Linked DNA regions of Homo sapiens: all the other regions are linked to region 2. The links are contacts of gene promoters, found by promoter capture Hi-C in blood cells and fetal thymus (Javierre and others, 2016). All regions are on one chromosome and are shown on one strand. The core of a region is centred on a gene start or on the middle of the fragment in contact, and the rest is flanking DNA. Distances in the headings are between cores, read along the strand shown. Region 1 has its middle 16 kb from the start of SMAP1. Region 2 holds the start of SDHAF4 (succinate dehydrogenase complex assembly factor 4). Region 3 overlaps SMAP1 (small ArfGAP 1). Region 4 overlaps SMAP1 (small ArfGAP 1).

The links. The method cuts DNA at HindIII sites, captures the fragments that hold promoters and counts their contacts. A CHiCAGO score of 5 or more calls a contact.
Region 1: a contact is called between a fragment that was not itself captured here and the fragment with the promoter of SDHAF4 in region 2, in 4 of 17 cell types (naive CD4 T cells, activated CD4 T cells, non-activated CD4 T cells and 1 more). The highest score is 6.3, in naive CD4 T cells.
Region 3: a contact is called between a fragment that was not itself captured here and the fragment with the promoter of SDHAF4 in region 2, in 9 of 17 cell types (total CD4 T cells, activated CD4 T cells, non-activated CD4 T cells and 6 more). The highest score is 11.9, in total CD4 T cells.
Region 4: a fragment that was not itself captured here is called in contact with the fragment with the promoter of SDHAF4 in region 2 in 13 of 17 cell types (activated CD4 T cells, fetal thymus, non-activated CD4 T cells and 10 more); the score reaches 18.3 in activated CD4 T cells.

The regions. Positions count from the first base shown.
Region 1 is chr6:70,648,878-70,655,786 of GRCh38, forward strand. No RefSeq gene overlaps it. Among named protein-coding and RNA genes, the nearest start is that of SMAP1, 16 kb to the right of the region's middle. The HindIII fragment of the contact is 4,121 bases long and covers 1-3,899 here.
Region 2 is chr6:70,564,353-70,570,706 of GRCh38, forward strand. SDHAF4 (succinate dehydrogenase complex assembly factor 4) reads left to right here and starts at 2,578. Exons shown (of 3, transcript NM_145267.3): 1 at 2,578-2,652. The coding sequence starts at 2,589. RefSeq lists a silencer at 2,866-2,925. The HindIII fragment of the contact is 5,796 bases long and covers 1,879-6,354 here.
Region 3 is chr6:70,685,398-70,692,039 of GRCh38, forward strand. The region is part of intron 1 of SMAP1 (small ArfGAP 1); the gene reads left to right. Among named protein-coding and RNA genes, the nearest start is that of SMAP1, 21 kb to the left of the region's middle. The HindIII fragment of the contact is 6,982 bases long and covers 43-6,642 here.
Region 4 is chr6:70,671,253-70,677,868 of GRCh38, forward strand. All of the region lies in intron 1 of SMAP1 (small ArfGAP 1), which reads left to right. Among named protein-coding and RNA genes, the nearest start is that of SMAP1, 6.7 kb to the left of the region's middle. RefSeq lists an enhancer at 5,620-6,189. The HindIII fragment of the contact is 578 bases long and covers 1,104-1,681 here.

The DNA.
Region 1 (6,909 bases), core at 589-3,088, 84 kb after region 2:
AAAAGCACTATAGGTACTACAGTCACTAAGTTTGGTTTTAGTAAAATATAAATTTTTAAGATGGATTTTTGTGTTTTTTTTAAAAGTAGAATTTTTCCATTTATAAAACTGGCCATATTCTTTTTGTTGAAACTTTGAAATTTTTGTTATGTAGAGAAAAATATTAAAGGTTCTTCTCTCAAAGTCTACTACTGTTACCATTTTGATATGTTTTCTTCCAGAGGTTTACTCTGCCAGTTAATTAGAATGTAATTGTAATCATATAGTTACATGACATATAAATTCTTCATAAATATCACTTTAATATTTATACAATAGTCCATTATGGGGCTCTGTCATACGTGATTTTTCCTCTTACCTATTATTGAACATTTAGGTTGTTTCTTTTTTGTGATTTTATTTTATTTTATTTTTCAGACAGAGTCTCGCTCTGTCACCCAGGCTGGAGTGCAGTGGTGCGATCTTGGCCACTGCAACCTCCGCCTCCCAGGTTCAAGCAATTCTCCTGCCTCAGCCTCCAAGTAGCTGGGATTACAGGCGTGCACCACTATGCCCGGCTAATTTTTATATTTTCAGTAGAGATGAGGTTTCACCATGTTGGCCAGGCTGGTCTCAAACTCCTGACCTCAGGTGATCCACCCGCCACAGCCTCCCAAAGTGCTGGGATTACAGGCATGAACCACCGCGCCCGGCCCTTTTTTTGTGATTTTATATAACTACATACAGATTCCTAACTGAACGCCTTTCTAGTTGAAATATTACTGAAATTAAATGAACCTTAATCATATTCAACTTTTCTGCCTCTTTCCCTTTTTTTTTACAAACACACATAGATGAGTCACTGACCCATTTGAGTCTTAGTTACTACGACCATTGTATATAAACAAAATTATTATTAGAACATGAAAGGTGAAAAAATACTAAAGCTAACCTCACAGGAAATTACCTTTATGAATTTATTTTTTGTTATATGGCCTCAGTGTTGAAAATGCCTGATAATTTCTTAGCGGGGAGGCAAGGTAAATGTTCAGCTATTGTATAATTTGCTAAATTACTAATAGAAAGAGAGAACTCAGACTGGAAACAGAATGAGGATCCCTGACAGATAAATAAACTATTTTCTTTCACCTCCAAATGATTCAAATGTAAACACAGTAGGTCGTTTGGGAGCACATTTAGATTTTCCCAAATGACCACTGTAACTAGGGATGTTTCACTTGCCCTCTATTCAATTCGATCTCACTATTAATGGGCATTCCAGGATATTTTGTGATCAGGAGACTTGAAAGAGTTAATGCACTTTGCGAAATGCCTAACTTGTATTTGGGATTAATTTACTTCCACAGCAGGATCTGGCTTATTAGAGCTTCAGAAATGTCTAAAGAAAATTCTGTGTTAGATACATCACTGAAATGCTTGCCATCTCCCTGGGAGCCCACATTAAATCAGCTTGGTGGAGTAAACTTATTTTTGTCTTTTTCTTCTCATGAGTTTTTTGCAAAACAGCTGGCCTTTTCTAAAATGAGGTTGACTAACCATTTATAAGATTTGAGAAGGGACTAATTAGTATTGTACGTTGATTGGGGATCGTAGCTATTTTTATTTAAAAATCACATAGAGAGAAGTATTTGTTTGGTGACTTGCTTATAAAATTACTTTTCACCAACCACAGTGTTATAGTGTGGCTACTGTGTAGGAACAAGGCCCAGGATTTTTTTTTATCACTCTCTGAGATTGGGCCTATTGCAATCATTGTTACCCAACTACATGATTTCACACAATCTTACACGTTGAGGCAAGAGATAGCAGTAACCCTGACCTCTTGTTTTCACAGAGGTCTTCATTAATTTTTCAAGGTACAGGCTAGAGCTAAAGTCTTTCTGCAGGCCTTTCCTTCAGTATTGTACAGAAATGACAGGATAAAGCACAGGAGTCTGGCAGTTGAGAAAACGTGACCACGAGGACCCCCTCTCATGTATCCCGACCTTGGATTAGGAGGTTCCTTCAATGCCCTACTGACACTGGGCCAATACTTACCTCCAAAATAGCATCATGAATAACACAAAAAAGCATTGTCTTACTCCATTTGGGCTGCTGTAACAAAAATACCTTATACTGGGTAATTTATAAACAATAAAAATTTATTTCTCATAGTTCTGGAAGCTGGAAAGTCTAAGATCAAGGCATCAGCTGATTCGGTGTCCAGTAAGGGCCTGTTCCTCAAAGATGGTGCCTTCTCTGTGTCCTCATATGGTCGAAGAGGCTCTCTGCTCCCTTAGGCCAATTTTATTACTACCCTTATCCTATTGATAAGGGTGGAGCCCTCGTGACTTAATTACTGTCCCAAGGGCCCAACTCTATATCACTTCAATGGGGATTAGGTTTCAACATGAGTCTTGCAGAGACAATTCGGACCATATCAAACATGGACGGAGTTTCCAGGGTTGAAGCCCTTAGCATCCAATCTCACTACTGCTCTTCTCTCACTATTCCCCAGCTTTTAAGTCCTGTACTTGCAGTTTTTAAAGAACCGAGATATCTCTTTCCTCTTTACCTACATTCTTAGTAAAACCTCAGACTGAAACTCCTTCTCCATGCCCCGCCCTCCTTTGGCTAACCCATCATTGGACTTTCAGGTTAGAGATCAGCTTCCCTGACCACATCCTGCCCCACTAAGAAATAAAAACAAACCAAAAAACTCCAAAGATACTAGCAACAGCAACAAATTTAGAACCTGTTCACCGTTTTCCCACAGCATCCTGCACTTATGCTTGAAATAGCACCTGTACTCTATTAAAATCACCTGTTTACTTGGGGGTGGGGCAGGTCTCCCCTGTTGGACAGTAACATTCTTGAGAACACTGTTCATCTTTATATGCCATTATGTTAAAGAAGTATTGGACACAGTTTTTTTCATCAAGACATTTGCAATCCATTAGTAGAAAAGAGGTATATTTAAAGCCAACAATACAAAATATACATAATTACATAAAGTACAAAGTACACATAATTAAGTTCAAAATTGTTTGGTATAATTATTAGATCATTATATAGACAAGGCAGATCCATGAAGGCTGGAGCCATTTCAGAAGTCTTCATGGGGAAGTTGAGATTAGAATCGGTCAGATGTTGGCATAGCCTTAGGACTGGGGAGCAGAGTAGGGGGTGGTGTTCTAGGATGACAAAGTAAAATGAACAAAAATGTGGAAGATGAGGTGAGCTTTAAAAAATGGGTAAAATTCACCAGATGGAGAAGGCTGGGACATGGAGAAGGAATCTCAAGTAGAGGTCACAGCAAGAATGAAGCATAAGGAAAGAACTAGCTTGATAGAACACTGAGTAGTATTCCATGGTGAAAAGTAATTTAGATTAGACTTGATGGGAAACAAATCATTGTAGATTCATAATTGCCATGGTGGTTTCTTACTTTTCATGACTCCCAAGGAATCACTTGTCCCATGCTCCCTGCTTTTATATCATTGCCTCCCAAGTTTACTCTGAGCTTGGACATGTGACTTGCTTTGGTCAATAGGATATTAGCCAATATGACCTTTAGTGCATTGGGCTTTGTCTTTTTTTTTTTTTTTTCAGATGGAGTTTTGCTCTTGTTGCCCAGGCTTGAGTGCAATGGAGGTGTGATCTCGGCTCACTGCAACCTCTGCCTTCCAGGTTCAAGTGATTCTCCTGCCTCAGCCTCCTGAATTGCTAGGATTACAGGCATGTGCCATCATGCCCAGCTAATTTTGTATTTTTAGTGGAGGTGGGGTTTCTCCATGTTGGTCTCAAACCCCCGACCTCAGGTGATCCACCTGCCTCAGCCTCCCAAAGTGCTGGGATTACAGGCATGAGCTACTGAGCCTGGCCTTGTCTTTTGTAATGGTGCTTTTGCTGTGTGAGCAAGCTTAGGCTAGTCTCCTTGGGGAGAGAGAAAACAAAATGAAGAGAGGGGCCTGGCTGTGCCAGTCATTCCAATCATCCAGGCTTGGAGGCCATCAGGAACCAGCCAGCCCAGTTGAGTCACCAGAAAATTAAAATCACATAAGTGACTTCAGGTGAGACAACCGAATTTCTAGCTAAGACCAGCCATAATTGTTGACCTATGGAATTCTGAGCAGTAAAATAGTCATTGTTTTAAGCTACTAAGGTTGATCTCTGCTTACCTCCCAAGCCTGGCCTAAGTTGTAGTTTTAAGCTACTAAGTGGTTTGTTATGTAATAGTAAATAAATGATACAAATTTTAATATGAAAGATTTTCACCTGTCTCTCTGAGGGCTCCTTTTCAGACACCTGTGCAGGTTCATCATGCTTGGCTTATATTAATAATAAATATTGATGCTCCTCAAAGCTCAATCCAAGGCCATCTTCTGTTTTTACTCAGTTATTCCTTCTCATGTGATTTATTCTACTTCCATAGCTTCTTTAGTGTGATAATATATTACCATGTTTAGGCCAGGTGCTGTAGCTCACGCCTGTAATCCCAGCACTTTGGGAGGCCAAGGATGGCAGATCACGAGGTCAAGAGATCGAGACCATCCTGGGCAACATAGTGAAACCCCGTCTCTACTAAAAATACAAAAATTAGCCAGGTGTGGTGGCACATGCCTATAGTCCCAGCTACTCGGGAGGGTAAGGCAGGAAAATCACTTGAACCTGGGAGCCGGAGGTTGTAGGGAGCCAAGATTGCGCCACTGTACTCCAGCCTGGCCTGGTAACAGAGTGAGACTCCATCTCAAAAAAATATATGTATGTATTACCATGTTATACTTTCTTTCCTTTTTTTTTGTTTTTGAGAAGAAGTCTTGCTCTTGTCCCCCAGGCTGGAGTGCAATGGTGTGATCTTGGCTCACTGCAACCTCCGCCTCCCAGGTTCAAGCGATTCTCCTTCCTCACCCTCCCGAGTAGCTGGTATTACAAGCCCGTGTCACCATGCCCGGCTAATTTTTATATTTTTAGTAGAGACAGGGTTTCTCCATGTTGGCCAGGCTGGTCTTGAACCCCTGACCTCAGGTGATCTGCCCGCCTTGGCCTCCCAAAGTACTAGGATTACAGGTGTGAGCCACCGTGCCCAGCCATGTTTATACTTTCAATCACTAATGTATACTTCCAGCCCAGACCTCTTCTCTGAGCTCCAGACTCAGATATCCAACTGTCTGCCTGACAGCTTTTTTTTTTTTTTTTTTTTTGAAGACAGGGTCTCACTTCAGTTGCCCACGCTGGAGTGCAGTGATGCGATCTTGGTTCACTGCAGCCTCGACTTCCTGGGCTCAGGTGATTCTCCTACCTCAGCCTCCTGAGTAGCTGGGACTATAGGTGCACGCCACCATACCCGGCTAATTTTTTGTATTTTTAGTAGAGATGGGGTTTTGCCATATTGGCCAGGCTGGTCTCAAACTCCTGGACTCAAGCAATCCACCTGCCTTGGCCTCCCAAAGTGCTGAGATTACAGGCTTGAGCCACTGTGTCGGGCTCTATTTGTATATTTCAAAGGCACTTCAGACTTGTGATCACCCTAGAACATACCTCTGGGTGTTGCCCTGCTCAGTGAATGGCACCATCCACCTAAGCTGCATAGGCAGAAACTTCAGAGTCAGTCTTGATACCTCCTTCTCCCTTACTGCCTCTATTGTCCATTACCAAGACTTGTTGATTTTATCTTGTTAAATTTCTCAAATTCACCTACTTCTTACTATCTCTATAACCACCATCCTGGCTGGGCGAGGTGGCTCATGGCTGTAATTCCAGCACTTTGGGAGGCCGAAGTGGGCAGATCACCTGAGGTCAGGAGTTCAAGACCAGCCTGTTCAACATGGTGAAACCCCATCTCTACTAAAATACAAAAATTAGCTGGGAGTGGTGGCACATGCCTGTAATCCCAGCTACTCAGGAGGCTGAGGCAGGAGAATCGCTTGAACTTGGGAGGCAGAGGCTGCAGTGAGCCGAGATCATGCCACTGTACTCCAGCCTGGGCAACAGAGTGAGACTCCATCTCAAAAAAATAAAAAATAAAAAAAAACCCCACCATCCTAATCCAACTATTGTCATCTCTTCTAGACCACTGCCAAAGGCACTTAACTGGTCTCCCTGCATCTGCTCTTGCCTACATCCAGTCTTTTCCCTACACTGCTGCCAAGAAGGTTTTTTTTTTTCCCTCAAAACATAAATCTGATCATGTCAGTCAGAGTTCATAATACTCCAATAACTTCCTATTACTCTTGGTATAAAGGTAATTCCCTAATTGCAATTTATCTTATTTAACAAAGCTGTGTTAATTCAAGTTCTCCAAGAAGCAGATGCTAAGATGGGATTAGACCTGAAAGATGTTTATTAGGGGGGATGTCTATAAAAATAAACAGGAGAAAGAGAATGCAGAAGAACTTTCAGACTGTGAGGCAGGTCTAACACCTGTGGAAGAGACGGGGCAGGAAGGAGGATTTGGGTAGGAAGAGGCTCAGATTGGGTAGGAAGAGGCAGCAAAGTTCTGAGAAAGTTTTGGCCAGGTCAGCAGGGGTCTTTGAGGCAACATTGCCTGTTAAAGGAGTCTCTTGTCTTATATCAGTTGCCTTCCCTCACCCTCCCTACCAGTGCATGCTCGTTATTGGCTGGGAGCAGCCCAGGGGAAGCATGGCCTTGGTGCGAACACAGTGGCGGATTCAGGAGAGCAGTGGCTCAGACTGTCAGTTGCCTGTGCTCCCCTGTGGCAGAAGAGCTGAGTGGTGGGCTTTTATGACCACTGAAAAGCCCTGTATGGTTTGATCTCTGCTTACCTCCCCAGCCTGGCCTTGTACCATGCAGCCCTTTGTGGTCTCAGTATCAATACAAGTCTTTTGTTACTTCCTTGAACATAAATATTATGTGTTTCCAACCCCTCTCCCCAATACAGAAACTAATTTTGTAATTTTAATAGAGAAA
Region 2 (6,354 bases), core at 1,328-3,827:
AGGGAAAACAATCTAAATGCAGAATAATTGTCTCTTCCTGTAAGAACAAATTGCAACCTCCTTCATAACAGTAGGATTTCATTGTAATCAGACCTGCCACCCAGACCACATAAAAGTGTATCATGGGATCAAGTTGGTCACTGCAGTTGGCGAGTAGTGGTAGTAGCCAATCAGTCATGGCAGAAGAAAGACGGTGTTAAAAGTACATGTATGTCTCCATTCTTGCCACCGTGGCTACCTTGTTACTGAGTCCACACCTGTTGTGGGGGAAGGAGGCTGAGTAATTGATGTCCACAGAATGGGTCACTGTTGCAGCCCTTGTGTAATCCCCTTTTGAGAGTGGCCGGGACCTAATAATAGGATACAGTGGAAGTGGTGGGATGTCGCTACCGAAATGAGATTACAGAAGTTCAGGGCTTCCATTTTGAGTGGTCTTTCTTGCTCCTTAGTTCATTTGTCCTGTGGAAAGCCAGCTGCCATGTTGCAAGATAGCCTTTGGAGAAGCCCACTTAACAAATAACTGAGAAGGTTTCCAGTCCAAAGTCCACAAGGAACCAAATCTTGCCAATAATCATGTGAATGAGCTTGGAAGCAGATCTTCCCTTAGTTGTGCATTTATACGAGACTGGGACTTCAGCCAACAGCTTGGCTGCAACCTCATTTAGGACCCAGAACCACAGTCACTCTGGCTTCTAGGTTACTGATCCACAAAAACTGTGAGAGAATAACTGTTTATTGCTTTAAGCCAATAAATTTTGGGATAATTTGTGAGGCAGCAATAGATAACTAATAATCTTGTTCTGATTAAGAGCCCTTCTGCAATGGAAGCTCTTTTTTTTTTTTTTTTTTTTAACGTTCAATAGGACCCAAATGTTTTCATGCTTTGGGACCACTTTGAGAGGTCCTATTCCAAAGACCCAGTCCAAAACTTTTACATTCCCAGTTCCCAGCCACTTGACAAACCAGTCACTGCCTATGAAATGTCGATTTTTATCTCAAGCCATGTCTCTTTTTAGGCAAAGCATACAAGATAAGCTAAATTCTGGCCAGGCACAGTGGCTCACACCTGTAATCCCAGCACTTTGGGAAGCTGAGAGGGGTGGATCCCTTGAGGCCAGGAGTTTGAAACCAGCCTGGTCAACATGGCGAAACCCTGTCTCTACTAAAAATAGAAAAATCAGCCAGGTGTGGTGACATGTGCCTGTAAAAACATAAAATACATAAATAAGCTAAATTATGCATGCTGGAAATAATTTTTTTTCCCTGTTCTGTTCCTTCAGGGCCTCTGTTAAGTGGGGCTCTAAATATGAAAAGCAGTCAGTTGCCAGCTGGGCCAGTTTATTGAGCAAAGCCATCATCCGACTTTGAATTTTTTCCTCAGTCAGCTAGTCACAAGGAATTCATTATTAAACTGTAGATATAAGCTAAAGGTCAAAAGCATGATATTAGGACTGTGAGCTCCCTACAAATGAAAACTGTTTCCGTTTTGACTTTGGCCCAGTTCTGTGTATCCCACTTTCTCTCTTTTTTCTTTTTCTGTTTTTGAGATGGAGTTTTGCTCTGTCTCCAAGGCTGGCGTGCAGTGGCGTGATCTCTGCTCACTGCAATCTCCGCCTCCCGAGTTCAAGCGATTCTTCTACCTCAGCCTCCCAAGTAGCTGGGATTACAGGAATGTGCCACCTCGCCCGGCTAATTTTTGTATTTTTAGTAGAGTGTTGGCCAGGCTGGTCTCGAACTCCTGACCTCAGGTAATCTACCCGCCTCGGCCTCCCAAAGTGTTCGGATTACAGGAGTGAGCCACCTTGCCCGGCCCACTTTCTCTTCGTAAAAGGATCTCCTTATCTAGGAGAACCAGATAATTCTCAGTTCATGATAAGAAGCTTCGATCGTATAACCACTTGATGTCACATGGTCAGACACTACCAAGGCGCAATAGCTAGCCAGAAACTTTTCTTTAAAAGAAAAGACAAAATTCCAGAATTCTGGGGGCCTTCACTATGATTCTGTAAATATTTCCACGAGTTGCACAAAGCATCCAGGTCTGCCACATCCACTCAACGCTATCAGAGCTGGTGGGATGTAAGGGTTAAGGGGCAGAGCTCATTGCACTGGATCCTGGCCTGGATGGAGAGCCTTTTCTTGCTTTGCACCTCATTCAAAAATGTCGCCTTTCATATCATCTGGTTAGTCGGTCAGAATGGACGAACTAGGAGCTGACTGAACAAAGATTTAAAACACAAAACAGGGAGAATTAGGTAAAAGAAGCATTTTACATGAGTGAGAGAGTAAAAGGTGCTCAATCTTTGTAAACTATAAAAGGGATCTTCCACGGGCCATTTCGGCTCAGACTGACAAGCATGAACGGAACGGAATTATTCCCTCTTCTAACTGCAGCCACGATTTGGCGTTTTAACACCGGGCTCAAGGTAGCCTGGGTCTCTCTTGGCCAAAGAGCCCAGGGATGCCTCTAACTCCTTTTCTAAAGCCGGCCACGGAGGCCCCGCCCTCTGCAGGGAGGCTCCGGATCATGCCCCCTGCTCCTCCCACTACTGCTTTGCGCCTGCGCGGAGGCTCGGGGAGTCGGCGCCATGACCCCATCGAGGCTTCCCTGGTTGCTTAGCTGGGTCTCGGCCACGGCGTGGAGAGCGGCAAGTAAGCACCTGGCCTCGGGGCCACGGTCGCGGGAGGGGTCGTGAAGGCCCAGGCGCAGAGAGAAGCGCCTCCCGCGGAGGAAGCCGCGTGTGTCCTGGCCGTTCGGTGTTGCCAGGGGCTGCCCAGCTTCTCCCGCCCAGCCGCCCACCCGGTGGCCTGGGCAGGTTCCTGCAGCGCCCCGGGTCTCGGGTGGGACTAGAGCGAGAAAATCGCTAAGGCCCTTTCAGCCCCCGGGACGTCCGCTTCCTACCGAGCACGCGGTGGCCCAACAGGACCACAAACGTTCCGGGTTGTTCCTGTGGGAGCTCGCAGGGCACACCGCACTTCGATGCCCCAGAGAAAAATGGAAAAGAAGGCCCTTTGGGAATGGGAGTCATTGATTTACTTATTTATTTACATCATTATTTACAGGAATCCGCGCTCCTGGTCCAGGCTCCAGCAGAAAAGGATTTGTGGCAGTTTACAGTTTATCTTTTAAAAATGGGAAAAGTGCAGAAGTGAGCCAAAGGCAAATAAGTATAACGTAAATTAGATGAAGCCAGGAATTGTCAGTACAGAAAAAGCATTCATGCTTTCAGTAAAACCAACATTTTTAAACCCATTGTTGTTGGAAATTTTTCTCAAGATAATACAGTTAGCAGCCCAGACTATGCAAAACATAATTTTATTTATTTATTTATTTATTTGTTTATTTATTTTGAGATGGAGTCTCGCTCTGTCCCTCAGGCTGGAGTGCAGTGGCGCAATCTCGGCTCACTGCAAGCTCTGCCTCCCAGGTTCACGCCATTCTCCTGCCTCAGCCTCCTGAGTAGCTGGGACTACAGGCGCCCGCCACCGTGCCTGACTAATTTTTTGTATTTTTAGTAGAGACGGGGTTTCACCGTGTTAGCCAGGATGGTCTCGATCTCCTGACCTTGTGATCCGCTCGCCTCGGCCTCCCAAAGTGCTGGGATTACAGGCGTGAGCCACCGCGCCCGGTCCGCAAAACATAATTTTAATATATGACACCTGGAGAAGTTATGTAAGTTGAAAACAGTAATTATTGCCCTCAAATGGTGCCAGATTTCTATGCAATTTGTTTTCCTTTGTGCAATCATTTTACCCAAATACAAACATTTTACTTAATTGTATAAGTTTTAAATAGTCCAGAAATGAATAATACAGAAAGTGAAAGTCCTACATTATCCAAACCTCAAGGTAATAACGTTAAAATTTTGTAGGGTTCATTCAACATCCCCCTTTAACTAGTTTTAAACAATTATGAATTATTCCATATATATATATGTATACACACACACACACGTAGCACACATGTAAGCTATGTAGCAGTCATGTAAGCTATGAAGCACAACCAGCATCTATGAACTTATACTCCAATTTAAGAAATAGTCTCTATTGCCAAGGAGGTCTCTATTTGCTGCTTCCTGATACAACTGTGCAATGGTGTTTTTAATCTTTATAGAAATGTTTTCATATTGTTGATTTTTTTTCAGATAACGCTGTGTTTTGTGATTGAGTCACATTGACGCATGAGGTTGTAGTTATTCATTCAACTGTGTGAACATATGATGCATTTTCCAGTGCCCTTCTCAAAGGACATTTGGGTAATTCCAGAAACACTAGGATTGGGTGCTACACATTCTTGTGTACCTTATTTGTGCATTAGTGGAAGGAGTAGAATTCCTGGAGTATGTTATAGGTCTTTTCATTGTTACAATATAATGCCAAGGTGTAACGGCATTTTCTAATTCTATAGCAATTTTCACTTCTACCAGCAGTGTATTGGAGTTCTGTTGTTCCACAAACTTGCCGAAACTTAATTTTGCCTTAGGTTTTAATTTTTGGCTGCCTACAGGGAAATGAAATGACACCTCATTGTGATTTTGCTTTTCTCTGATTAAAGAAGTAAAACATCTTTTCAAATATTCACTTTTTGTGAAATACCTCTTTCTTTTTTCTTTTTTTTTTTTTTTTTTTTTGAGGCGGAGTTTCGCTCTGTCGCCCGGGCTGGAGTGCAGTGGCGCGATCTCGACTCACTGCAAGCTCCGCCTCCTGGGTTCACGCCATTCTCCTGCCTCAGCCTCCCGTGTAGCTGGGACTACAGGCGCGCGCCACCACGCCCGGCTAATTTTTGTATTTTTAGTAGAGACGGGGTTTCACCGTGTTAGCCAGGATGGTCTCGATCTCCTGACCTCGTGATCCGCCCGTCTCGGCCTCCCAAAGTGCTGGGATTACAGGCGTGAGCCACCGCACCCGGCCTCTTTTTTCTTTCTTTGTTTTTGAGACGGAGTTTCACTCTTGTTGCCCAGGCTGGAGTGCAATGGCGAGATCTCAGCTCACTGCAACATCTGCCTCCTGAGTTCAAACGATTCTCCTGCCTCAGCCTCCCAAGTAGCTGGTATTACAGGCGCCCACCACCACACCCAGATAATTTTTTGTATTTTTGGTAGAGACAGGGTTTTGCCATGAACTCAGGTGATCTATCAGCCTCGGCCTACCGAAGTGTTGGGATTACAGGCGTGAGCTGCCACGCCCGGCCTTTTTTCTTAACAGATTGCTTCTTATTTATATTCTTTACATATATTTGTATGCTAAACCTTTTTTAGTTACGTAAGTGTCAAATACCTCAATTTGTGGTTTGTTTCTGTCACTGCTAGGCAGAATAGAATAACGGGTCTGCATGTGTAATCATGCAGCTTCAATATAAAAGGTATCTTAATAAACAGATGTTTATAATTTTATCTATAAAATTTTGTCTTGATCCTTTTGTTTATTGTGACTGCCTTGTGGTCTTGTCTAAGAAACCCTTCTGTACCCTAAAGTCATGGACATAATCTCTTATATTTTCTTCTCAAAGGTTTATAGTTTTGCTTTTCACATTTAAGCCTTTATTCTACCAGGAATTGATGGTTTGTATATGGTGTGAGGCAGGAAACCAGTTTTCATTTTTTTTCATATCAAACACTTGTCCCAGGTTCATGTATTTATAGGACCTTTCCCCTACTGATATAATGCGAGCCATCATAAATCAAGTTTACTTATACATATAGGCATACGTTTATTTCTTGGCTCTTTTCTCAGTCCCATTGACCTATTTGTCTATTCCTGTGCTGATACTACCTGTCTTGATAATTATAGCCATAACTTTGTTATAAATCTTACTATTTTCTGACTGTTGTTTATGTACAGAAACATGATGCTTAATGATTTTGTATCTAAATTACCTTATTAATTTAAATAATTTACTTTGCAGATTTTGGGGACTTTGCTGCATAGCCATTCATATCATCTGCAAATGGTGACAGTCTAGTTTCTCCCTGTCTAATCCTTTTTTTTGAGAAAGGGTCTTGCTCTGTCACCCAGGCTGGAGTGCAGTGGCGCAATCTCTGCTCACTGCAACCTCCACCTCCCGAAATCAAGTGATTCTCCTGCCTCAGCCTCCCGAGTAGCTGGGATTACTGGTGTGCACCACCATGCCCGGCTAATTTTTATATTTTTTTTAGAGATGGGGTTTTGCCATGTTAGCCAAGTGATCCTTGAGAGCCTCGGCCTCTCAAAGTCCTGGGATTACAGGCGAGAGCCACCGTGCCCCCCACCACCCTCCCTGTCTAATCCTTATATCTTTTTTCTTTCTTTGCTCAGATTTCCAGCACCATGTTGACTAGAAGTGTTGACAGCAAGCATACTTATCTTGTTTATGAT
Region 3 (6,642 bases), core at 2,284-4,783, 120 kb after region 2:
GCAGGCCATAAACACAGAGTGTATTCTGGAAAGTGTAATGCAAGCTTTAGATGTTAAATAAATTCAGAGAAAGTAAAAATCACCAAGAATGGGGGCTGGGGAAGGTTTTTAATAAAAGAGGTAGTTCTTGAGGAAGAGTGAAATCAAACTTAAAGGAGAATGGCAAAGTTATTTCATGTAGGAATAACCAGGTAAACAGGTTTGTGCATATACTTAGTGGACATGCTTTGTACGTACCTTTCTGAAGACAGGTGTAAGTACTGGGCAGAAATGTCAGGGAGAAAATAGACAAAGGGACAATTGTTGATTTGGGAGTTATCGGCATAGAAGTGTTTCCTAAAGCCATATTACTCCATTCAACACTTGTCTAACCAGAGGGTCAATGATGAAGATTTTGTAGAGAGGCAATGGGATGAAGTAGAATCGTCCCATTCTTTGTGAAGGAAGACTGTAAGGAAAACCAGAACAGAGAAGCCTTGGGAGAAGAGGTTTTTTTAATTTTTTTATTATTTTATTTTATTTTTTTAACACAGAACCTCACTCTGTCACCCAGGCTGGAGTGTAGTGGCACCACAATGGCTCACTGCAGCCTCAAACACCTGGGCTCAAATGATCTTACCTCAGCCTCCCAGGTAGCTGGGACTACAGATGTATGCCACCATCAGAGGAACTAGAAAACGCCATTTGATTTTTGTATTTTTTTGGTAGACATTAAAACTATTTTCTAAGCTCTTATGAAAATTTCTGTGGTGAAGCTGAATCCAAATTGCCTCAGAGTCTGTTTTTTTTACCTGCTATGCAGTGCAGTAAGATTTAAGAAAGTGAATCTTTAGTATTTTTATGCTTTTCTTAGGCAGTCCTTTACCATTTTTAACACCTTTGCCACATTTCATTGCTTGTTTTGTTTTCTGTGTTTAGTTTACTTTTGAAACAAATACATATTTTCTCTTGGGATTCTGACAACTTATGTGGTCTGTGAAGAAAATTGTTTGGAATTTGTTTCGCAGCGGAAGGAATGTTATTAATATGGGTGTAAATGGCCCTTGAAATAAGGCTTAATGGAACTTTTGTCAGGGTTACTTTGTTTTGTTTGAGGAATTATAGTTAACTCTTGAATAAACTGATACAGTTGACAAAAATTGGTTTCTGGGAGACTTGTCAGTGTATTTTTGAAAAAACACACATTTCTTTTTTAGCACATTTGCTTTCTTATCTTACAGAAGTACAATTCTTTTTGTATAAATGAATATAATAGTGTCTTTTCAGTACAATTGGGCTTCTTAAATATTTGAATACAGTATATACGAAGTGGTGGTTTTATAACATATATCTGCCCTCTGCTGGTGAAAATGCGTTATTGCTGTGAATTTAACAGCTTTAGTAATTTCTTTGAATGTAATAATACTCTGTAATTTCAAAAGTTGTCATAAAACTAAACTTGGGAAAAAATACCCTTATCATTTGAAAGGAACATTCTCTTTGGGACAGTTCTGCACAATGAATTATTCTGCCCAAAATGCCAGTAGTGCCCTGTTTGAGAAATATTGACCTAATATACTGATGATGATGATTTTTACATTGTGGCTGTCTCTCTGTGTTTTTTTTAAGTTTTTCTGTAAGTTCTAGGTTTGTCCTGTCCAGTGTGGAAGTCACTAGCCATAAGGCTATTTAACCGAATTTAAACATTCACTTTCTTAATTCCAGTAGCCTCATTTCTAGGCTTAATAGCCACTGTGGCTAGGAGCTAATGTATTGGATAATGCAGATTATAGAATGTTTCCAGCATCATGGAAAGTACAGTTTGACAGTGCTGTTTTAATTTTTAAATTTTAAAAAATGAGGATTATCATTTTCATGAAGTAATCATTTTCTTAAATTTGTGATGAATTTCTTTGCCATGTATTCTTTTCACATTACAGCAGTTTCTCAAAAAACAATTCCAATTAACCAAGGGAAATATATTTAGTAGGATTTTAGGTTATTAAGATTTTATTGTACCATGTAATTTGCTGCAACTTATATATTTATTGCTGAATGATTATAGTACATTTTTCTCAATGTAGGGCATTGAGTATTTCTAGTATTTTGCTTCTCTGTTTTGAAGAGTAAAGTTAGGTTAAGAATAATGGTCATTTTTTTGCCGCCATTTAGTTGAGATAATAGCTTCTTTACTCTTTTGGTGCATGTTTGGGATGGAAGGAAAGCTATGAATCAAAACATACATAGAGAAACTATAATGTGTGAATCACAGTTGAATATATGTTGGATGATTAAAAAAATACATAGACACTTGACCCAGTTTCTCCTAATGGTAACATCTTGTAAAATTATAGACAAATGTCACAACCAAGATACTGATGTTGATACAACCCACCAATCTTACTGTGACTTCTGCAGTTTTGCTTGTACAGTAATTTGTGTGTGTGTGTGCATGTATTTTTATTCAATTTTATCAAAAGTGAAGATTCATATATCTGCCACCACAGTCAAGATATGGAACAGTTATATACCACAAGAATCTCTTGTGTTGCCCTCTTAAAACCACACATACTTTTCTCTGTCCCACCCCACCCATCCATTCCTAACCCATAGCATCCATGAATCTGTTTTTCACTTCCAAAATTTTGCCATTTCAAAAATGTTATAAAAATAGAATCATGCAATATGTAACCTTCTGGGATCGGCCTTACTCAGTGTAATTCTTTCAAGACACATCCAAGTTTTTGCGTCTGTTAATAGTTCTTTTCTTTTTATTAAATAGAATTTTGTGATATGTTTGTGCCATAGTTTGTTTAACCATTCATCTGTTGAAGGACCTCTGGACTGTTTGTAGTTTTTTAGTATTAAAAATAAAGCTGCTGTTAACATTTTTGTATAGATTTTTGTGTGGATGTAGGTTTTTATTTCTCTGATAAGTGCCCAGTAGTGCAGTTTGCTGGGTTGTATGGTGATTGCATGCTTAGATCCATAAAAAAAGTGCCAAACTTTTCAAAAGTGGTTGTACCATTTTATACATCTACTAATGATGTGAGCTATTTAGTTGGTCCTTTGCCAGCATTTGGTGTTGTGACTGTTTTTTATTTTAGTAATTATGTTAGATGTGTTGTAACAGTGATATTGGCTTCAATTTGGATTCTCCTAGTGGTTTATGGTGTTGAACATCTTTTCATGTGCCAGTTTTCCATCTGTATGTCCTCTTCAGTGAAATGTCTGTTCATGTTTCATTTTCTAAATAGATTTTGTTTTTTACTGTTGAGTTTTGAAAGTGCTTTATATATTCTAGATACTAGTCGTTTGTCAGATATGTGCAAATACTTTTTCCTACTTTGTAGCTTAACTTTACATCCTCTTCACATGGTCTTGCATAGAAGAAAAGTTAGTTTTGAAGAGGTTCAATTTATTAATTTTTTTTATGGACTGTATTTTTAGCAAGTCTAAGTACAATTTGCCTAACCCTAGATCCTGAAGATTTTCTCATATATTGTTTCCTAAAAGTTTTACAGTGTTATGTTTTATATTTAAGTCCATGATCCATTTTGAGTTGCATTTTATATATGATACAAGGTATGGATCAAAGTTTTTTTTTTTTGCATATGGATATTTGATCCTTTGAGAACATTTAGACAGAGTCTTACTCTGTCACCCAGGCTGGAATGCAGTGGTGCGATCTGGGCTCACTGCATACCCTACGTCCCAATCTGCTTCAAGTGATTCTCATGTCATGCCTCAGCCTCCTAAGTAGCTGGGATTACAGGTGTGCGCCACCACGCCTGGCTAATTTTTGTAGTTTTAGTAGAGATGGGGTTTCACTATGTTGGCAGGGCTGGTCTTGAACTCCCGACCTCAGGTGATCCACCCGCCTCAGCATCCCAAAGTGCTGGGATTGCAGGTGTGAGCCACTGTGCCCGGCCTGAGAACCATTTCTTGAAAAGATTAGTCTTTCTCCTTTTGCACCTTTTTAAAAAAGTTAATTGACCATGTATGTCCAGGAGGGAGCACTTCTGAAATTTATTATGTTCCATTGATCTGTTTGTCTGCCTTTATGCCAATGTTGTACAGTCTTTATTACTGTAGCTTCTTAATAAGCCTGGAAGTAAGTAAGGTAGTGTAAGTCTTCCAACTTTGTTATTTTTTTCGAAGTTGTTATGCCTATTCTAGGTTTCTTGAATTTTCATATGAATTTTAGAATCACTTTGTCAATTTCTACAAATAATCTCAGATTTCAATGGGGAATCATTTGAGTCTGTAGATCCATTTGAGAGAGAATTGACATCTTTTAATATAGAGTCTTCCAATCTGAACAAAATATATCTCTCCAATTATTTAGATCTTACTTAATTTTGCTTGGCAGTATTTTATAGTTTTCAGTGTATGGGCCTTCCTTATTTTTTGTTAGATTTTTCCATAAGGTTTTATTTTTTAATGCTATTGTAAAAGATACTTTAAAAATTTTAATTTCTGATTATTACTAGTATATAGAAATACCGTAGGTTGCTGCATACTTAGGACATCTTGCAACTTAGTTAACCTCATTTATTTGTTTTCATAGCTTTTTTCGTGGATTCTATTAGGTCTCCTACCTAGACAATTATCATCCTCGAATAAAGGCAATTTTTGCTTTTTTCCAATTTGAATACCTTTTATTTCCTTTTTCTTATTTTATTGCACTGACTAGAACCTTTAGTAAAAATAGAAGTGGTGAAACTGGACTTGCTTGTTTTGTTCCTGATACTAAGGGAGAAAGGGTTCAGACTTTATCTTTTATGTAAAAGTCTTACAGATACCTTTTATCAAGTTGAGGAAATTTCCTTTGTTGCTAGGTTGCTGAGAATTTTCATCAGAAATGTATGTTGAATTTTATCAAATGCTTTTCTGCATCTTTTGAGATGATCATATAGTTTTTAAAATCTTTTTTTTTTGTTTTTTGAGACGGACTTTCGCTCTTGTTGCCCAGGCTGGAGTGCAGTGGTGCGATCTCGGCTCACTGCAACCTCCGCCTCCTGGGTTCAAATGATTCTCCTGCCTCAGCCTCCTGAGTAGCTGGGATTACAAGCATGCACCACCACGGTCAGCTAATTTTGTATTTTTAGTAGAGATGGGGTTTCTCCATGTTGGTCAGGCTGGTCTTGAACTCCTGACCTCAGGTGATTTGCCCGCCTTGGCCTCCCAAAGTGCTGGGATTACAGGCCACCCGGCCGGTTTTTAAGTTCTTTAATATATTGAACTACATTGATTTTCACACATTAAACTGCATTCCTGGGAGAAACTACACTTGGTCTTGATGTATCTTTTATATATATATATATATATATTTTTGAATTTGATTTGCTATGATTTTACATATTGTCATGAAGGGTGTTGAACTGTAGGTTTTATTTCTTGTGATATCTTTGTCTGGTTTGGTATCAGAATAATTTTAGGCTCACCAAATGAATTAGATAGTATTCTCCTCCTCCCCCTTCCCCCCTTCCCCACTGTTTTTTTTTCCCCTCAATTTCCGGAGGAGTTTGTATAGAACTGACACTATTCCTTAATCGTTTGGTAGATTTCCCCAGTAAAGCTATCTGGGCCTTGAGTTTTTGTTTGTTTTTTGCTGAGCAGATTCAGTTTATTTAATCGATATTAGGCCATTCAGGTTATCTTTTCCTTCTGGAGAGAGCTCATTTCTGTCTTTCAAGGAGTTGGTGCACTTATAGCATAAAGTTGTTTATGATATTCCTTTATTGTATCTGTAGAATCTGTAGTAATGTCTCTTCTATCATTGCTGATATTGGTAGTTTGTATTTTCTCTCTTTCTTCATCAGCCATGCTAGAGATTTACCTATTTTATTGATGTTTTTCAAATAATCAGTCTTTATTTTCATTGACTTTTTTGTTGCCTTTTGGTTTTCTACTTCACTGATTTTTTAAAATTTTTATGGGTACATATAATAGTAGGTGGATATATTTATGGGGTACATGAGATATTTTGATATGGGCATACAAAGCATAATAGTCACATCAGGGTAAATGAGGTTTCCATCACCTCAAGCATTTATCATTTCTTTATGTTACAAACATTACAGTTATACTATTAGTTATTTTAAAATGTGTGATAAATTATTGTTGACTGTAATCACCCTGTTGTGTTATCAAATACTAGATCTTACTCATTCTAACTATATATTTAAACCCATTAACCATCTCAATTCTGTGGCCCTCTGCACCAACCCCCTACTCTTCCCAGTTTCTGGTAATCATCATTCTACTCTCTATCTCCATGAGTTCAATTGTTTTAATTTTTAGCTCCTATAAAAGAGTGAGAATGTGAGAAGTTTGTCTTTCTGTGCCTGACATTTCACTTAACATAATATCCTCTAGTTCCATCCATGTTGTTGCAGATGACAGGACCTCATTCGTTTTTATTGCTGAATATAGTACTCCAATGTGTATATGTACCACGTTGTCTTTATCCATTCCCCTGTTGATGGACACTTAGGTAGCTTCCAAATGTTGGCTATTGTGAATAGTGCCACAATAAACATGGCCGTGCAGGTATCTCTTCAGTATAATTATTTCCTTTCTTTTGGGTATATAGCTAGCAGTGGGATTGCTGGATCGTATGGTAGGTCTATTTTTGGTTTTTTTGAGGAATCTCCGTAC
Region 4 (6,616 bases), core at 143-2,642, 110 kb after region 2:
TAGCCTGAACTTGGCTGAGTAGGGCTCCTAGAAAACATCGCTGGGCTTGGCAGGTACCACATTGACATGTCCCATGCTTGTTAATGTATATTTCTGAGATTTTAAAAGTGCATTCAAGACCAGCCTGGCCAACATAGTGAAACCCCGTCTCCACTAAAAATACAAAAACCATTAGCCAGGCATGGTGGCAGGCACCTGTAATCCCTACGTGGGAGGCGGAGGCAAGAGAATTGCTTGAACCTGGGAGGCGGAGAGGCGGAGGTTGCAGTGAGCCGAGATCGCGCCACTGTACTCCAGCCTGGGTGACAGAACAAGACTCCGTCTCAGGGAAAAACAAAAACAAAAACAAAACATATAGATAAAATTCACATTGAGCGGTTTCTTCCCACTATCCCCTCTCCCCAGCCCTTGGCAGACACTATTGCATGTTCTATCTCTGTAGGTTTGGCTGTTCTGGATATTTAATATAATACAACATATGAACTTTTGTTTCTGACTTTGACTTCATATGTTTTCAAAGTTCATTCATTTTGTAGCATGTGTCGGTACCTCACTCCTTTTATGGCTGAATAATATTCCATTGTATGGATAGACCACAATTTATCCGTCTATTGATGAACATTTGGTCTGTTTCCATCTTTTGCTAGGTTTGATTTTGAGCATGTTTAAATTGGTATGAAAGTGAGTCTCTTGCCCATTCAATTTTGGGTAGTCAGAAACATAAGGTTTTTTAACTCTAGAGATTGTTTTGTTTAGCCTGTCTGATATTGAGAGGGTAAGCTCATTGCTGAGATCAAACACTCGTTTCTTTGTTCCGCAGATCTTGACTTGAAGACACACTGTTAGATATTGTATTAGGTAAGAGAGCTAAAAAAATTTGTAAGACCTAAAGGAGTTTGTTTAGTGTGGGTTGTGTTTTTGCAAATAAATGATTCTAAAACGATGTGCTAAGTGCTTGTAATAATGGTTTTAAGAAATAACTACCTCTATACTTATTTTGGGCTGTTGTTCCCCTTGCACCTTGACTTTTGCCCATTGGTGGTCTTTACAGTTCCTAGAATGCTGTTTCAAGACCTTTGCACGTGCTGTTCTTCTGCCTGGGAAGCTTTCTAACAAGTTTTTGCCTGCTCAGCTTTTGCTCATCTTTCAATTCCTGCTTAAATGTCTTTTCAAGGGAAATAATTCTCCTTGATCCTCTGAGATTAGGTTAGGCTTCCGTTTATACATAAAAGACAACACCCTGAATCTTTTATTGCACTTATCACAATTGTAATTAAACATTATTTAGGTAATTATGGGGTACACTGTATCCCTGCTGGATTATAGCTGTAAGAGAGGAGACCTTGTTTATCTTGGTTAGGGTAGTATCCCCAGTTTTCAGGACATGTGGTAGGCAAATGTAACTTAGCAAATATTTTTTGAATGAATGAATGTGTGAATGAATGAGCACAGAGCCCCTGGCAGGCAGCAGGGTGTGTGAAAGGGAGTGCACCTGTGAAAGGGAGTGGCATGTGGAGTGACCCTGTTGGGACCAGTCACAGAAGGAGTCTTCATTTGAGCTAGGTTCTGAAGGTGGAGTGGGATTTCATCAGATAGAGAAGGAATTAAAGGACACAGCTGCACACACACATGTACCAGTATGAAAGAACAGAAGAAGTTTCCATACGGCCCTTACTAGATAAGCTTTCTTTAAGCATGATCAGTTTTGGTAGTCTCAGGTCAGAGGAAGAACTGGGATAGTGAGGATTGCAGGCAAATCCTGAGTTAGGAGATGTTGAACAGTGGTCCAAGAAGAGGGCAAGAGGACCTAAATTCACACAATGTCAATATATAAGTCAGGGTATAGAGCAGGAAAGAGATCCACTGTAGCTATTTTCAGGAATCAGGTACTTACCAAGTCATTGGAAGGGCTGGAGGAGGGAAAGTCAGGGAGCCACTGCTGAACTGCTTTCAAGGCCACACATACCACCACTGCTACCGCTGCCCCACTGTCATAACTGCTTCTCACCCAGGAGACTGGTATGCTGATGGGGGCATAAGGCCTATGGAGCTGCAACCACTTAGTGTCTGTAGACGTTTTTTGTTAGTTGCCCTTTCTGTAGGAATGTGGCCTCTGTCCCACTTGTGCTTTCCATGTGCAGATAATTGGCAGATCCTAATTATGTCCAATACCTTGCCTTCAAGGGAGTCTTTTAGCTTTCTAACTTTTTCAAAAAGTAGAAACGTGTAGAGCCCATTTGATTGCAAGAGCCAATCCAAGAGTTCATGTTTTTCATTAAGTCTTTGATATTTTAGAGTTGTTACTTTTAAAGTGTAGTAATATTTACTAAAAAGTAAAGTTCACCTTGGGGAACTGGTGTTTATTATGATGTTGATGCTTATAGGACAAATTTATATAAGTGAAAGTCTGATTATAATTCACCTAAAGAAATTTGCCAATCTAAAAGTTTCCTCAAAATGTGAAACTTCAGTCTGATGGGTCTGTTGTTCTTGTAATTCTGCTGATCTCGAGGTTTTTCCTGATTGGGCAGAGCCCTGGTATCAGAGCTGAGATGGAAATCATTGGTCTCTGACTCATCAGTTTAAAACTTGGGCTGCATGTTGTCTCCCCTCCTTTTGTTCTTCACAGTTCTTCTTTGTCTTTTTTGTTTGTTTGTTTGTTTGTTTAAGATAAAACTTTCAGTACTTGACTTCATTAATTAAGGAGGCTTACATCTCCTAAATTGTTGCTGTACAAGATATATATATATATCTTTCTCCACCTTTATTAACCTATAACAGACTTGAATCCATGCTCTCTTTAAGGCAAAGTAGAATGTTTAAAACGATATACTTTATAAACTCAAAAAAGTGCTTTGGCATTTTTTTTTTCTTTTTTTTTCTTTTTGGTACAGGGTCTCACTCTGTCGCTGGGCTGGAGTGCGATGTAGGCTCTCTGCAACCTCTCCCTCCTTGGTTCAAGCAATCCTCCCACCTCAGCCTCTCAAGTAGCTGGGGCTACAGATGTGTGCGACCATGCCTACCTAATTTTTGTATTTTTTGTAGAGACCACGTTTCGTCATGTTGCCCAGGCTAGTCTTGAACTCCTGGGTTCGAGTGATCTGCCTCCCTCAGTCTCCCAAAGTGCTGTGATTACAGGTGTGAGCCACCACACCCAGCCCCTTTTGCTTATTTCAAACGCTTCTACTAATCGTCTTTTCACGGATTAGAATTAAGCCATTTTAGTTCAGTTTCTCAATTTTCTCAATGAAAGAAGATCAAAGAAACTTGGAGGCCATTTTGTAGTTATTATCAGAAGAGTTGACCGCCTTACATTCTTACCACTGTAAAGAGTTGATTTAACAGACATTTAATTTTGTTGATAAATCAATATTTTCTGGGCACTAAAAAGATTAAGTACTACGTTAGATACTACTGTGTGTGTTAAAAAAGTTTTGGATGCCGGGTGCAGTGGTTCATGCCTGTAATTTCAGCACTTTGGGAGGCTGAGGCAGGTGGATCATCTGAGGCCAGGAGTTTGAGGCCACCCCTGGCCAACATGGCAAAACCCTGTCTCCACTAAAAATACTAAAATTAGCCAGGTGCAGTGGCACATGCCTGTAGTCCCAGCTACTCGGGAGACTGAGGCAGGAGAATTGCTTGAACCCTGGAGGCGGAGGTTGCAGTGAGCCGAGATGGCGCCACTGCACTCCATCCAGCCTGGGCGACAGAGTGGGACTCCATCTCAAAAAAACAAAAACAAAAAGTTTTGGATATAGTTGTCTACAAGCTAGTTAGAGATCTCAGTAGACATGAAACAATTACCAGTTAACTTCTAATCTATGTTTACATTGGTAGATTCATTAGAAGTTTAGAGATAGGGTAGCTCCATTGTGACCTGGAGAATGTTAAAAAAAAAAAAAAAGCAAATAATAACATTACATATATACTCACAAATTATATAGTGTTTTTTTTTTTTTTTTTTTTTTTTTTACCAGAGATGATGTACTTCACACTTTACATATACTAACTCATATAATCTTCAAAACAACCTTTGAGGTAGGTAATATTATTACCCAGGTACACAGAACTTAAAGTAGTGGAGCCAGAAATTTTTTCATTAAAAAAATTTTAGGAGGCCTGGAGCAGTGGTGTACACCTGTAATCCCAGCATGTTGGGAGGCCGAGGTGGGTGGATCACCTGAGGTCAGGCGTTTGAGACCAGCCTGCCCAACATAGTGAAACCCCATCTCTATTAAAAATACAAAAATTAGTTGGGTGTGGTGGTGCACTCCTGTAATCCCAGCTACTGGGGAGGCTGAGACAGGAGAATCACTTGAAACCGGAATGCGGAGCTTACAGTGAGCCAAGATCGTGCCATTGCACTATAGCCTGGGCAACAGAGCGAGACTCCATCTCAAAAAAAAAAAAAAAAGAAAAAAACAACTTGGAGGGGAGTGACTGGCACTTTCTTAGGACCTGGGGATTAGCAGGGGATAGGTAGATAAGGTTCATGCTCAAAAGGATCTGTTAGTCATTGGTGTGGAGAAAAGAGTTAACAAAGCAGGCCTTGCGGTGGTTGGCTGACATCTGAGGGGAATCTTGGGGATGGTCCCACCACCCTAAGTGATGAGTCTGTCATTGTGCCTAAGTTGTTTGTATAATAAATATGGTTTATGTTGAATATCTGCTTTTCTTCTGGGATTCTGGAATTGGCATATGTGCCAGCCAGGGTTACCTACATGACCAGTCTCCCTAATAACCTTTGGCACTGAGTCTCTGATGAGCATCCCTGGTTGGCATCATTTTACATGTGTGGTCACAGCTCACTGCTGGGAGAATTAAGTGTGTTCATTGCAACTCAACTGGAAGGGAGCACCCGGACGCTTGCTCCTAATTTCCCCTGGACTTTTTGTGCCTTTCTCCTTTGCTGATTGTGCTTAGTATCTTTTTGCTATAATAAATCATAACGATGAGTACAACTGTATATTGAATCTTTTGAATCTTCTTAGCAAATTACTGAACATGAGGGTGGTCTTGGGGAACTCAAAGCATAATTGGTAATATATATTTTCTTCCAGTATATTATACAGGACATGTTGGAGCCTCAGTATATCTGTGCTGGCTCTATAACCTAGCCTGCTAATAAGGGTACAGTCTGGAGGAGCAAGGATGAACATTAGAGGCTTTTATAACCTGGGGAAATTGTGATTTTATTGAGATGAGATAGGGGTGGGAATCTGAACTGTAGAGTCAGGATTTGAGCCCGGGAGATATAGTCTGTGCTGTTAACTATGTTTGATGGTATGATAGATAAAACACCTGTTTTTGTTGTAGAAATTTGTGATGTAAGAGATTGTTGTTGGGAAGACTGTCACCTTCGGCTAACTTAAGGTTTTTCTCAGATTATTGCCAAATGTGTTCAAATGTGGACAATATCTTCATTTTAGTTTCCCTCCTTGCATTTAATAGCAGAACCACCATAACTTCAAAATACCAGTTTAAACAAATTGGAATTTTTGTCTCATCACTAAAGTTTATTTTATTTATTTATTTTTTCCTTGTTATAGAGACAGGGTCTCATGCTGTTGCCCAGGCTGGGGTGCAGTGGCGTGATCATAGCCCATTGCGGCCTCTAACTTCTGGGCTCAAGTGATCCACCTGCCACAGCCTCCCAAGTAGCTGGGACTACAGGCTTGTCACCATGTATGGCTAATTTAAAAAAAATTTTTTTGTTGGGTGTGGTGGGGAGGGGCCTTGCTATGTTGTTTGGGCTTTCAAACTCATGGCCTCAAGCAATCCTCTTGCCTAGGCCTCCTGAAGTGCTAGGATTAGAGGTGTGAGCCACCTCACCTTGCGTAAACTTTATTTTAGAAACTTACTGAGTCCACAGATAAGTGCTTTAGTGTTTTTCTTTGTTTTTTGTTTTGTCTTCATATATATATATAATTTTTTTTTTTTTTTTTGCTATATCCTTAGGTCAGATACTGGTCATCTACCTGGGCTTTTTAAACCATAGAAACAGCATGATAGAATTGAAAGAACACTAGCTTGGTTGAGCAAAGCTAGGATTCAGTCCAAGCTTTGCCTCTGACTTGCTTAGTGACCAGTTGTCCTTGTTCTCTTTAATCCTTATTGCAAAGATTTATTTCAACCTTGTATGGTCTGTGTTCTTTCTTGAATCCCATACCTTGTCACTTCTTTTTTTTTTTTTTTTTTTTTTTTTTTTGAGGTGGAGTGCCAGTGGCTCGATCTCGGCTCATTGCAAACTCTGCCTGCCGGGTTGATGCCATTCTTCTGCCTCAGCCTCCCGAGGAGCTGGTACTACAGGCGCCCGCCACCGCGCCCAGCTAATTTTTTGTATTTTTAGTAGAGACGGGGTTTCGCCGCATACCTTGTGACTTCTATGTCAGTGTTTACTATTATTATTAAAAAATTATATTATTGAGAGTTTATTTTTTGAGTCCTATTGAGATATGGATTGTCATCAAACTTTTATAGTTTTTATTTAAAGCTTTTCACTGATGATTTAGGTCTTGCTGAGCAAATTTACCTAGTATTATCTTTAATTATCCCAAGCTATATCACACAACTCATACAACTCTTCCCCACAGGTTGAGGAGTCCTTTTGTTTAAA